Regions from separate parts of the Homo sapiens genome. Here regions 1, 3 and 4 are each linked to region 2. Evidence: promoter capture Hi-C in 16 types of primary human blood cells and fetal thymus (Javierre and others, 2016). All regions are on one chromosome and are shown on one strand. The core of a region is centred on a gene start or on the middle of the fragment in contact, and the rest is flanking DNA. Distances in the headings are between cores, read along the strand shown. Region 1 overlaps PNMA6E (PNMA family member 6E). Region 2 holds the start of PNMA3 (PNMA family member 3). Region 3 overlaps ZFP92 (ZFP92 zinc finger protein). Region 4 overlaps ZNF275 (zinc finger protein 275).

Region 1 (3,355 bases), core at 455-2,954, 340 kb before region 2:
GCTAGACTGGAGTGCTGCCAGCTGGGTTTAGGGGGCGCCCAGTGTGGAAGGGCACGTTGGGGGCAGGAAGGGACTGTCCCCGGTGTGCGGTGGGGGATGGGCTGGAAGGAGGGCCAATGCCTAAGGGTGCACGGGGTGCGGAGCCGGAGGCTGCCTGGCGGCCAGTGGTACAGGCGACGGTGAGCGCCCCCTGGAGGCTGTCGGCGTGGCAGTGCCGTGAGGAGCCTGGCCCCCTACAGGTGGAATTGGAAAGGCTTCAGGTCGCCTCTTCGTGGGGAATGGCGACAGGAGTTGCAGTGGTTGGAGGGGGCAGACCTTGGCCTCTGTAGAAAATACGGATTCATGACAAGGGCAAATTGTACATTCACTTAGATAGACCATATGTCGAGCCATTTAAAAATCTTCAGAAACTGAAAAGGATCGCACGTTTTCATAAGTTCTCTGATCACAGTGGAATTTTATTTGAAATTAATAACAATAACATATGTCTAGATATTTTGAAATCCATGGGTCAAAGATGAAATCACCAAGGAACTTACAAGATATTTCAAACTGCACAAAACATTCAACTTACCCAAATTACTAGCCATTTGGAAGGAAGGAAGTGGTCAGAGGAAAATTTCTTGCTTTCAGTGCTCATAACAGAAAAAAAGAACATAAAATCAATGGCCGAACAGTCCATTTAAAGAAGCTCGAAAAAGAGCAAAAGTAAACACAGAATGAGTCAAATAAAGAAATAACAGAGATAAAAAGGACAATCAGTAAACCCCGATATTAGGCTTTTTAAAGAGTACCAAAATTAATGAACCCTAGCAAGACTAATTAAGATGAGAGGGGGCTAGGCACAGTGGTTTATGCCTGTAATCCCAGCACTTTGAGAGGCTGAGGCGGGAGGATTGCCTGAGCCCAGGAGTTCAAGGCCAGCCTAGGCAACATAGTGAGACCCCTTCTCTACAAAAAGTACAAAAAATTTAACCACGTGTGTTAGCATGTGCCGGTAGTCCCAGCTACTCAGGAGGCTGAGGTGGGAGGATCGCTTGAGCTCAGGGGGTCGAGGCTGCACTGAGCCGAGATCAAGCTGCTGCACTCCAGCCTGGGTGACAGAGTGAGACCCTGTCTCAAAAAACAAACAAACAAACAAAAAACAACACACACACACACACACACACACACAACACACAAGAGAGAATGAACACTAATCAATATCAGGAATGAAGGACAGGATATTACTACAGATCATATAGACATTAAAAAGATAAAGAGGGAATATTGTGAACAAGTTTTTATCAAAAGTTTTGAAAACTGAGATAAGCTTCCCAATTCCTTTGTGGGGGAAAAAAAGTAACTTACTACAAATGGCACCAAGTAGCATAGAAAATGTGACTAGCCCTGTATCTTGCAAATAAATTTAATTTTGCCATCAAAATTTCACTAAAATCAAAGCGACAAAACAAGGAGGCAGAGGAACTCCAGCCCTGCCCCCTCACCCCCACACACGTAGGGGCAGATGAGTGGTGGGAGTGAGTGTTTGGCACAAACAAGCTTCTCTCTTTGCACTCACAGGCTGTGTCGGAGACTGCAACAGTCAGCACACATTCCTGATTGATCAGGCTCCCTCCCTCAAGTCCTCTGCGATGGCTCTGGCGATGCTTCGGGACTGGTGCAGGTGGATGGGTGCGAACGCAGAGCGCTCCCTGCTCATCCTGGGTATCCCTGATGACTGCAAGGAACATGAGTTCCAGGAGGCCGTGCGGGCTGCCCTGTCGCCCCTGGGCAGGTACCGAGTACTCACCAAGCACTTCAGAAAGGAGCTCGGGGCCAAGGCAGCCTTGGTGGAGTTCGCTGAGTATTTAAACCGAAGCTTGATTCCCCATCAAATACCAGGCAATGGGGGGCCCTGGAAAGTGATCTTCCTGCCCCAAGTACCTGTTATTGAGTTTCAGGATATGCCCAGTTTTCCTGCACAGCCCCAGGGTCAAGCAGTAGCAAAAGCTGCAGGTGAGGGAGGAGGCGCAGGTGAGGCAGGAGGTGTAGGTGAGGTAGGAGCAGCAGGTGAGGCAGGAGGCACAGGTGAGGCAGGAGCAACAGGTGAGGCAGGAGCAGCAGGTGAGGCAGGAGGCGCAGGTGAGGCAGGAGGTGTAGGTGAGGCAGGAGCAGCAGGTGAGGCAGGAGGCGCAGGTGAGGCAGGAGCAGCAGGTGAGGGAGGAGCAGCAGGTGAGGCAGGAGGCGCAGGTGAGGCAGGAGGTGTAGGTGAGGCAGGAGCAGCAGGTGAGGCAGGAGGCGCAGGTGAGGCAGGAGGTGTAGGTGAGGCAGGAGCAGCAGGTGAGGCAGGAGGCGCAGGTGAGGCAGGAGCAGCAGGTGAGGCAGGAGGCGCAGGTGAGGGAAGAGCAGCAGGTGAGGCAGGAGCAGCAGGTGAGGCAGGAGCTGTGGGTGAGGCAGGAGCAGCAGGTGAGGCAGGAGCTGTGGGTGAGGCAGGAGCTGCAGGTGAGGCAGGAGCTGTGGGTGAAGCAGGAGGGACAAATGTAACAAAAGCCTGGGTCCAGCCTTGGCGCTGCACCCTACAGCCTGTGCTGGAAAACAGGGCCTACCGGGAATTGAGACCCTTTTCCAGGAGGGAGCAGCCAGGCTGCGAGGAAGAGTCCTTTGAGAGCTGGGTGGAGCATGCCAAGGATATGCTGCAGCTGTGGTGCCATGCGTCGGAAAGGGAGAAGAAGAGGTGGCTGCTGGAGAGCTTGGGCGGCCCGGCCCTGGAAGTCGTGAGCGGCCTCCTGGAGGAAGATACCAACTTGTCCGCGCTGGACTGCCTGGCGGCGCTGGGGCAGGTATTTAGGAACCAGGACACTCGAATGACTTCGAGGCTGAAGTTCCTGACCTGCACGCAGGGGCCCCAGGAGGGGCTGTTTGCCTTCGTGGTGCGCCTGGAAGGCCTGCTGCAGAGGGCTGTGGAGAAGGGGGCCGTCTGCCCAGCCTTGGCCAATTACCTGCGACTACAGCAGGTGCTGTCTTGGGCCCGCCCCAGCGAGGCACTCCAGGATACCCTGAGAGGGATGCAGCTGGAGAAGAGGCCACCTGGCTTCCTGGGGCTGCTCCGGCTCATCCGGGAGATGGAGGCATGGGCAGCCTTCCCAGCGAGGAGCCAGCAGGGTGTGGCCTGGGCAGCGGCCCCAGTGGAGAGTGAAGACCCAGCTGCTGCCCAGGCCTCCCCAGCCCAGGGGAATGCCAGCGAGGCTGGTCCCGGAGCAGAAGATGCTGCCGAGGCCGCTTCTGCCACCAAAGAGGCTGCAAGGGGAGCCCCTGCCGCTGGGGAAGGTGAAAGTGCCCCTGCAGGCCCCGAAGGCCTAGGTCAGGCAAGGCC
Region 2 (3,271 bases), core at 1-2,500:
CCCGGAGCCCACTGACCACCTGGAGAGCAGGGCCCCGTAAGCATTCCATCAGCCTCCGCCTCTTTTCCCCCTCGGGCACCTGCCACATCTGTAGCATCTCAGTGGTGTGCTCAAGCCAGGCATCAAAGGCCAGTGCACCTGGGATGGATATGGTGTTCCCAGAAAACACTCTTAGTTCTCGGTACAACATTTGTTCTAGCAGAGGCTGCACTGCTGCCCCCAGAGTCTGGGCCCAGGTCCAGAACTCTGGTGATATAGTCACTCTTGGAGCCGAACAATTGGTGTCCGACCCGAGGACTCGGTTCATATCTGACACGGTCCGCCTCTCCTCCTCTAAGAAGCGGTTCAGTCTGTTGAGAAATTCCCCATCTGAGTTACGGGGTTTTACAATCACTTCCCAGGGCCCCCCCTTTCCTGGTATTTCCCTTGGGAGCAAAGCATAGTCGATATCTTGTGCCAGCTCCAGTAGAATCGCCTGGGCGTTCTCCTCCCTCCTAAACATCCTGCCAATCACCCTGTATCTGCCCAGGTGCCTGCAAGCCTCCTGGAGTGTCTCCTCAAACTCATCCTCGCCACAGTCCTCGGGGATCCCCAGGATGAGCATGCACCTCCGGGTGTTCAGGTGTTCCCCCCGACACCAGTCCTGTAACAAGGTCAACGGCATGTCCTCGAATCTCTGCGGATACTAATTTGGGGGGAGTGATCAGGGCGTGAGGCACATATCTGGATCAACTCCTAGGGTGATCGCAGAAGGCCCAGGTCTCCACAGCCTGTGAATGCGAGCAGGGCGAGAGCGAGGTTAATGCCCACCTCTCCGCACGCCCACATCCACGCCCACCCCCACCCCCACCCCCAGCCGCCCTCCTCCCCGGGCGGCGCCTCTGCAGCCAGGCCCCGCCCCTGCCCAGCCCCCCACCCCCACCCCCCGTGGGGTCTCTGCGGGCCTCAGCCCCCTCCCCGCGCTGCCCCAGGACCCTGGACCCCTGCCCTGCAGGCTGCTTCAGTTCTGATAGGGCGGACAGGCGAGGGGCGGCGGAGTCTCCCGGGGCCCAGCGTCTCCCTCCCCAGGTGGGTCTGTTACCTTCTCCCAGGGCAAGGTCCCTTCTGGTCGGGGTCCCCAGAGGGCTCTCCGGGGGCTATGCGCGGCGGCGGCGGCGGCGGCGGACGGGGGTCGGGCACCCCTGGCTCCCAGCGCGGACGTTCGCTCAGACTGTGGCTCTCCCTCGCTCGCGCAGCACGTGGGCCAGTGCGCCGGCGCCTGCTCGCCGCGGCTCTCTGCAGTGCGGACACGGGGCGGGGGCGCGGCGGCGGTGCAGCGCGGACCCCTCCGCGTCGTCCGGGAGACCGCAGGGCCATTGGCGCGGACGGGTCACGAGGTCGGGCTCTCGCCGCCGCCCCTGGGGGCCCCAGGTCCCCGGGTGACGTCACCTGCTCCTCTCCCCTAGCCCCCCCGCCACGGGGGCCCCCGGGCCCCCGGGCACACAAGCGCCCGCCCACCCCCATCCCCACTGCGGTGGCCAAAGGTCTGTGGCGGCCAGTCCCCGTGCCTTTGGCTCTCACCACAGCGGTTCCTGGTCCCGGCTCCTGCCCCTCCCGCACGTGCCACGGAGGTGCCAGCGGGGCGAGGGGTCTGCACCCCGGCGTGCCCACCAGAGGGCCAGGGAGTGGTCTGAGGTGCGCCAGGCAGCTCTGCATTATGGCCAGGGTCAGGGAGCCGGGTTCTGGGGCCTGTTCACCTGCTCTTGTCCTCCCCCTCCCCGTCCAGGACTGGTCCTCTGGCTGGCGAGGCCAGGGGCACCTGGTGCGGGTGCCATTCCGTGCAGGAGATGCCCCAGGCACTCATGCAGGTCACGCACACCACCCCAAGGAGGGTCAGCCATCTCCCCGCTGTCCATCCCGCTGCTGGGACCTGAGGCCCTCCGGCCAAAGCGCTTCGCTGCCCAGGTGCCAGTGGACAGGTTTACCGGGACCTTTCCGGTTTTGTGCGCTGCAAATCTAGTGACTTGGGAAACCACTTCCAGGACTTGGAGCCCAATCCCTTGGGCCTGCCCTTCCTTGGCAGCCGTGCGCCGTGGGTTCTATTGTATCCGTTTGATCCCAGGGCAGCAGCCAAATGAAGAAGGGAGTGACTGTCCCTCAGGCAGTGGGCCCAGGTGTTCTGTGGGTCCTGCCTGCTCTGCCAGCCGCATGCTCAACTCCTATTCACACAGCTTCAGCTCCTCTCCAAACACAACGAAAAGGGGCTTGTGGTTGATTTTCAGGCCAGGTTCACCCATCCAGCCAAGTCTGGGAGGCCACCTTGCAGTGAGTGGGGCACAAAACTGTCCACTGACTTCCTGCCCCACCCTGAGTTCTGCTCGTCAGCCTGGCACTTGTCAGGGACCAAGAAGAAATGGCCCCAAGGGCTTTTTCCTGGTCAGACAGAATTCCTGAAACATCTTTACAGGAGTTATTTCATTTGCTCCTCACCAGAACTCTGAAGCAGGTATTAACATTATCCTGATTTGACTCATGAGGCTCAGAGAGATTAAGAGACATTTTCAAGGTCACACACCGTATTGAAGGTAGAATTGAGACTGGATTCTAAATTAGTGCCCATCAGTCTTTGGGTAGAATTGGGACTATTTCTCCCCTGGTTGCTTCATGCCTATTAGAATTTATTTCTCTCATTTTTGTCCATTCACAGTCCCTTGCTTTGTCACTCCAAGGGCTCAACCAGCTTCAAACTGAACCTTCATCTGCCCAACTTGCAGGGGTGGAAACAGAGGTTCAGAGAAGGGACACTACTGGCCCAAGGTCACACAGTGAGTAAATGACAAAGCTTGAGATGTCAAGGGGAGATGCCAAGTATTCATGCCAAGGCAGAGGGGCGTGTCTGGAATGTCTCCGGAAAGAAGCCTGTGAAGTTCCCAGACAGACGCAGTGATCTGTGGATGTTCTGGGCATTGGGAAAAAAGGATTTGGAAACACTGGTATCAAGACAATAGATGTGAATATGTCCAATTTGAAAAGTTTTAGAACTCCTTTATATTGGAGTTAACCTTTGCCCTTGAAACCAGTGGAAATGTCTTAATTACTTTTGCTTCCCCATCTCCTTGCATGGTAGATAACACAGCAGCACCAAAGTTGGGGAACTGATGGATAAACATTATTACTTGTAAAGTGAAAAACATAATACAGCATGAAGGAAGCAACCTCCACCGGGGTGGCCTTGCCCTGGCTTAGACCAGTAGTGACTATCGGGGTCACAAAAGGGGCAGATTCATGGGCC
Region 3 (3,255 bases), core at 442-2,941, 360 kb before region 2:
TCCGGCAGTGGGTGTGCACTGGCATGGAAGGGGGAGAGCAGTGTGCTCCAAGCTGCCCCAGCTCCTCCCGGGACTTCTCAAGGCTTGAAATCCAAGTCTACACTTTGTCCTTATGTGGGACCTCCCTGGTCAATGGAAGGAAAAGATGTTGCTAAATTTTACAAAGTGGAACGGATGCAAAATGCAGCCGTCATAGAAACGAATTAAGTCTAAAAGAGTGCACATAAATATTCCAGTAGAATTTGCATCTCTCTTTTGAGTAGAAAGACCTTTAGTCGATCCACGATTTTATACACAAGATAAGACTGGTACTGAAACTTACAGGCCAACGCATTTACCTAAAACATTTACAGGTCCAGACCACTTAGCTAAAAACCATCCTACTGAGATGGCGGCTGGCCTGCAATGGATTACTGGCATTACTGGTCTGATGGAGAAATGCATTTATTCTTGGGCTCATAGCAACCGACAAACAGGAATCTCGGAAATAAACTGAGCCCAGAGACAGAGTAGGTGGGACTGGGTGTGTGTATGTCGTGGAGGGATCACTTACCCAGTGACACCAAATGGCTATAGTTCTCCAGCATCACCCGCTTGTAGAGGACCTTTTGTCTGAGGTCCAGAAGCTTCCATTCTGTCTTTGTGAAGTACACGGACACATCCTCAAAAGATACTGGCACCTAAAATAAGGCATTCTTGTGGCCACAGGGGAATTCAACCCCCTGGGCCCCTGGAGGAGCTGACAGAAACAAAATGTGGGGGGCGGGGGGAGCCCTGGAAGGCTCAGCAGGTGGAAAGACTCGGGTTGCACGAGTTGTAAGACAGAAAAACAGGCAGCACAGCCGACAGAGGCAGGAAGCCCAGATTGTGCGCCTCAGGAAAGGAAAACGATGCTAAGGGCAGCCTAAGCTCAGCCCAGCTGGAGAGGCCTGGGCATGAGGAGGCAGCAGACGGGGGCTGCCAGGGGGAGAGGCCAGGGAGAGGGGCCACCACTCACCTTGGGTCTCGTGGTCAGGAGAATGGCTGCCATCACCAGGGCGCAGAGGAGCTAAGGGAAATGCAAAGAGCCCCCTGTGAGCCCAGGGCAGCCTGGAGCAGCCAATCTGCGACCTGCTTGAAGACCCTGCTTAGTTTTTCTTGTGAAATAAGCACAGCGGCCACCTGTGGTGTTCTCACTCCTGCAGCTTCACCAAGGGCCCCTCACCATCAGACCTTCTGTATGGCTTCCTGGGGCGGCCATAATAAGTACTACAAATCGGGGCCTTCAAGCAAGACACATTTTTCTCTCCCGGTTCTGGAGGCCAGAAGTCCGAGATCCAGGTGCTGGCAGGCCCCCGCTCCACTGAAGCCCCTTTCTCGCCATTTTCGGCTTCTGGTGGTTTCCAGCAATCCTTCTTGGCCTCTGTCTTCGTGTGGCCATCCTCTCTCTGTGTGTGTCTGTGTCCCAATTTCCCTGGTCTGTTGTGAATGCCAATCACTGGATTAGGGCCCACCCTGCTCCTACAGTATGACCTCATCTTACCTTGATTACAGCTGCAAAGTCTCCCTTTCCAAATGAGGTCACAGTCACAGATACCAGGAGTTGAGACTTCAATATGTCTTTTTGGGGGGCACCATTCAAACCCAGGACACTCTCTGCAATTGAGGTGCCATGCCCACTTCCATACTGGCGCTCGCCTGACCAGGCTTTCGAGGGAGCCCGTTCCTTCTTTCCTTTCTTTTCTTCTTTTGCTGCTTTTCTTAGCTCTCTCCCCATGTGGCCAGCGTCCCCTGACCCCAACTTTCCAGCCATTCCTGGAAGCTCCACTGCCAATCCCCTTCCCTCAGGTCGGGATTCTTAAGGAAACTCCAAATGCACATGTACGACCTCCCTTTGCAAAATGAAGAGAAGAGAGGTGAGGGCAGTGCAGAATCAAGGGGGACCTACAGTAGTGGGGGTGCTCTCTGAAGGGGTGACATTCAGGCAGAGAGCTGGAGGCTGCAAGTGGCAAAGAGAGTAGCCAGCCAACAGCACAGCACATACCCTGGCCCTCAGATGGTCCTGCATTTGGCATTCGTGGTGCTGAAAATTAGGGAACAGGCGCAGAGGATGACACCACGTGGGACCCTGGAGGGACAGCAGGAAGTTGAGTTTCAGGCTAAGAGTAGGGAACATGAAATTGACAAAGTGGACAAAATTCACCTCGGCCTCAGGACTTCTCCACAGCAGTTCTCAATGCCAGATGGCAGTCAGTGCTGTGGGTTGGATATCTGAGTCTCCACACGTCACGTTGCAATTTGATCCCCAGTGTTGGAGGTGGGGCCTCATGGGAGTTGTTTGGGTCGTGGGGGTGAGTCCCTCATGAACAGATTAATGCCCTCCCTCAGGGGTGAGTGAGTCCTTGCTCTGTGAGAGCTGATTGTTAAAAAGAGCCTGGCTCCTCCCCTCATCTTGCGTCCCCTCTGGCCACGTGATCTCTGCACATGCCGTGCGCCACCAGCTCCCCTTAGACTCCCACCCTGAATGGAAGCAGCTTGAGGCTCTCACTAGATGCAGACGCCCAGTCTTGAACTTTCCAGCCAGCAAAATCCTGAGCTAAAGCAACCTTTTCTCTTTATAAATTACCCAGCCTCTGGTATTCCTGTACAGCAACACAGGAGGACTAGGACAGGGGGGTAAAAGATTGTTCCTTTCTCAGCACACGCCCCCACCAGCTACTTCCTGGTTTCTCTGCTTCTCTGCCTGGGATTTCCATTTTGTTGGTCTCCAAGCTTTTATTGATGTTCCAATGGGTGACTACAGTTTGTTTGTGCCAACAACGCCACAGGAGAGAGGGAGAGGGCACAGGATCCCAGGAGCATAGAGAAGGACAGCCACAGTATTTGCCTGGCATTTAAATTGCTCCAAAGTCCCTTATCATCCATGATGACCTGCCAGCCAACATTGGTCCAAGATACATAAGCTGATGTTCTGAATCCCTGAAGGTGGAATGGATGCTAAACCATTAGGTTAAAGACTTGAGAGAGAAAGGGGTATCACATATCAAAATGCCATCCTGTGATTATTTGAGGGCTGCAAGAGAGTAATCTAACCTAGCAGTGGGACATAGGGTGGGACAGTCCTGCTGCCAGGATGCAGTAGGAAGGTATCCTACCAAAGCCATATGACTGGATTTGAACGCAGCCTTGGCACTCAATGTCCAGTGTCCAGAGGCCCTTGGGAATAGATGACACCACAAGGAAGCAACCTGCCTGACCCAGAAAGGGGCTGTTCCA
Region 4 (3,475 bases), core at 805-3,304, 290 kb before region 2:
GCATAACGCACAAGCCATCGGAGGGGCAGGGTTCCTCTCCGAGCCTCTGCTCTGTTGCCCTCACTTAGGTGTGGCTATAGGAAGTGATGCCAGAACACATGGGTGAATTTTCCCCTAGCTGCCCACAGCAGAAGCCTATGAACCAATCTCTTTCTAGTTCTAGAGTCACCGGCTGAAAGGAGGATGTGGTCTAGGCAAGTCTTCTTGTGTCCAAGGAGATGTTTCTTGGGTGAATCTGCTGCTCAGTCACTGAATCCACTCGGAGCATTGCCAAGGCTCCCAGGAGCTCAAAGGATGGCTGGGCTGCTTGCTCCCAGACCAAGTTTGGACCACTCCATTGATCTAGGTGAGGCCAAGCCCCACTGCTGCTGGCGGGGTCTATAATGATGAGCAGTCACAGAGTTCTGGCTAATCTATGATGGGAGCATCTCCAGTGTGCCGCAGTGGTCAGGTTGGATAGTCAAGTGGTGCCCACAGATAGACAGGGAGTCCGCATCTCGGATGAGGAAAGAGCCTGCTTCTCTGGCCCATTTCCATCCAGCCTGCCCACCTGGTGTACTCACCTTCTGATGGGCTGGGGTTGCAGCTTTTTGTTTGTAATTAAAATTCTAGAGAAAATGTCATCATATCTAGCTACAGAAGCAATGAAAGTTATGACTGAGTGGACAAAAAATGAATGCTTGGATATGTAAAAATTAAAAGCTTTCACAACAAAAACGTAATAAAACTGCTACAAAAAGCAAAGCAATAAAATTGGAAAAGAGAACATCACCATCAATATAGAAAGAACTGCTACATAAAGTTAATATATCCGAAGGTAAGTTGATAACTAGTCAAAGGAGATGAACGGACCATTTGCATGCAAAAAACAGAAACACCATTTAAGTCATCGCATAAGAGAAAGATGAGACTGGTGGTCAGGAGGCCTGGGGTCTATCCCCAGTTCTGGAATTGACAAGCCACAGAATGACGGCAATAACTATGACAATGACAATGACAGCAGATGGCCTTCACTGAGTGTGTACCTCCATACCAGGCCGGTGGTCCTGGCACTCTGCAGCCACGATGGCAGTCCTCGTGATAACCTTCGGAGGTAGGTGCTGTGATCACCCCTGTTTTATAGAACAAGAAACGGAAGGCTGGAGAAGTACCATCTAGGCCTGATACCAGGAGAGGCTCATTTCCAAAAGGAGGCGTCACCCTGCACTTGAGTCCTTGAGATGTATCTCTTCTTAGGGGCATGCTCTCAACTATTTTATTTTGAACAAAATAGTGCTGCTTGAGGACAAGACCCATTAGTTCAAAACAACCCCAATCGATGCTAGTTTTGGATATGTATAGGGGACACCAAATTGAAATGGTTTAAGAAAAAAAGATACCGACATTTAACCCAGATTCAGTAACTGTTACTAGGCGTTTGGCCTCACAATGACATTTTGGGTGCTTTAAAAGAAAAGACGTTTAAAGGTTGTTTGAAAAAGTATGACCTTAAGTGGTTATATTGTACAGTCACAGGACAGATTAAAAAACGACAAGAGAAATCGTCCTAATGTTCTGCAAATATGGTCTTATGGCTTGGGAGAAAATTTCTAATGAGAGCCTCATGAAGGGATCGTCACTGAGCGACCGTGCAGAGCTCGGATGGAAGTGACTGGGTGTGTCTTGAAACTGTCTGATGACTCAAACAGGGTTCCCATGTTGGTGAAGACGGTGAGGAGTCAGAGTAAAATGATTTCGTGAAAGGGAGGGTGGCAAAAATGGGGTATTTTCTAAATTAATATATTATTTTATATAATATGTGATTTACAGTATGTATGTATAACTAAATTAATAAATTAAATATTTTAAGACATTTGAGTGTTCTATTTACATCCCTAAAAATTTATAAATTCAAGTAGGCCAAAAATCATGAGGGCAACGTTCTCTTCAGGAAAGCTGGGATCACATTATGAGGACGCCATCGTGGAACAGCTCTGTGTGTTTCTCTGGGGCGGGGGGAGCTTGGAGTTGATGACCTCTAAGCCCCTCCCTACCCCACATCCAGATTTGTCCTCTCTCATTCTTGGATTCAAGGCATGTGGACTGAAATACCTTGATGGTACTTCCTACCAGTTAAACTAGCCAAACTAAGTTAAATGGTACAAGCTACTCTTGATGGGCATAACGTAACACTTATAAATTGCTGGTGGCAGTATAAATCGGTCTCAACCTTTTGGAAGACAAAATATATAAGCGCTACAAAACTGTTCATCTCCTTTGACTCTGCCATCCCCTCTGGGGACTCCGTCCCTGTCCCGCGGGACCACAGGGCGTTTCTACTCGTGGTGGGTTGGCTGATGCTTCTGCAGTGCCGAGCGCCTCTTGAACACGCGGCCACACTGGCTGCATTCGCAGCGCCGCGCCCCACTGTGGATCCGCCGGTGGCGACTGAGGCCGGAGCTCCGGCGGAAGGCCTTGCCGCATTTGTCGCACTCATAGGGTTTCAGTCCGCTGTGGATGCGCCGGTGCTTGATGAGGTCAGAGGGCCCACGGAAGGCCTTGCCACACTCGCCGCATGCGTAGGGCCGCTCGCCACTGTGGATGCGTGCGTGCTCCAGGAGGCTGGAGCTCTGGCGGAAGGCCTTGCCGCACTGGCCGCAGGCGTAGGGCTTCTCGCCCGTGTGGATCCGCCGGTGCTTGGTGAGCTCCGAGCTCCTTCGGAAGAGCTTGCCGCAGTGGGGACACCCGTATGGCTTGGCCCCACTGTGGATGCGCTGGTGCTCGGCCAGCCCGTTGACCCCTCGGAAGGACTTGCCGCAGTCGTCGCAGTCGAAGGGCAGGTGGCCAGTGTGCATGCGCTGGTGCTTGAGAAGCTCCTGGCGATCCAGGAAATCCCTGCTGCACGCCTTGCAGGCGAAAGGCTTTTCCGAAGTGTGAAGTTTCTGATGTCGGAAGAGGTGGGTGTTGACTTTGAACGACCGCCCGCATTCCTCGCAATCAAAGGGCTTCTCTCTGCTGTGGACCCTCAGATGCTGACTCAGGCCTGCATTCTTCTTAAACCGTTTTCCGCACTCCTCGCACTCGAAGGGCTTTGCCTCCCTCTCCATCTGCTCCCTCTTCTCCGCGGCATTCTCCAGGGCCCTACTGGGGCCGGGCTGGGGCTCCGCAGCTACGTGGCTTTTCCTGTGCTCATTAAACTCCGCCACCCCCCTAAAGACCTTCCCGCAGTCGCCACATTCCCAGCCCTTCTCCTCACTGTGGACTCTCTGGTGCTGGACAAGCAGGACTTTAAGCCGAAAGGTGTCCCCACACTCTTTACAAGCAAAATGATGTTCTATGGGCAGATTCTGTGGGCTCCCTCTCTTCCCGTCAGAGTCCCCGTGCTGTCTGAATTCAGGACTGGGACCACTGGCCCTTGGGAAGCTTGTGGACGCCATCTCCTGTGGCTGGGCATCTTCCCCCTTCATCTGGTGTCGGGTCGCGGAGGTGCTTTCTG

What was found. Contacts are between HindIII fragments. The CHiCAGO score rates a contact against its expected background, and 5 or more counts as called.
Region 1: a fragment that was not itself captured here is called in contact with the fragment with the promoter of PNMA3 in region 2 in 5 of 17 cell types (naive B cells, non-activated CD4 T cells, total CD4 T cells and 2 more); the score reaches 8.8 in naive B cells.
Region 3: a fragment that was not itself captured here is called in contact with the fragment with the promoter of PNMA3 in region 2 in 13 of 17 cell types (M1 macrophages, naive CD4 T cells, naive B cells and 10 more); the score reaches 14.4 in M1 macrophages.
Region 4: a contact is called between a fragment that was not itself captured here and the fragment with the promoter of PNMA3 in region 2, in 9 of 17 cell types (M1 macrophages, M2 macrophages, naive CD8 T cells and 6 more). The highest score is 11.7, in M1 macrophages.

The regions. Positions count from the first base shown.
Region 1 is chrX:153,397,129-153,400,483 of GRCh38, reverse strand. PNMA6E (PNMA family member 6E) reads left to right here. Exons shown (of 2, transcript NM_001367770.1): 2 at 1,564-3,355. The coding sequence starts at 1,635. Among named protein-coding and RNA genes, the nearest start is that of PNMA6E, 2.5 kb to the left of the region's middle. The HindIII fragment of the contact is 319 bases long and covers 1,545-1,863 here.
Region 2 is chrX:153,054,449-153,057,719 of GRCh38, reverse strand. PNMA3 (PNMA family member 3) reads right to left here and starts at 1,250. Exons shown (of 2, transcript NM_013364.6): 1 at 1,082-1,250; 2 at 1-770. The coding sequence starts at 664. The HindIII fragment of the contact is 3,087 bases long and covers 1-2,823 here.
Region 3 is chrX:153,416,098-153,419,352 of GRCh38, reverse strand. It overlaps ZFP92 (ZFP92 zinc finger protein), which reads right to left. Exons shown (of 6, transcript NM_001136273.2): 3 at 998-1,048; 4 at 554-680. The coding sequence starts at 1,030. Among named protein-coding and RNA genes, the nearest start is that of ZFP92, 6.3 kb to the right of the region's middle. The HindIII fragment of the contact is 2,125 bases long and covers 629-2,753 here.
Region 4 is chrX:153,346,816-153,350,290 of GRCh38, reverse strand. ZNF275 (zinc finger protein 275) reads right to left here. Exons shown (of 4, transcript NM_001367757.1): 4 at 1-3,472. The coding sequence ends at 2,316. Among named protein-coding and RNA genes, the nearest start is that of MIR12129, 13 kb to the right of the region's middle. RefSeq lists an enhancer at 2,493-2,993. The HindIII fragment of the contact is 2,700 bases long and covers 705-3,404 here.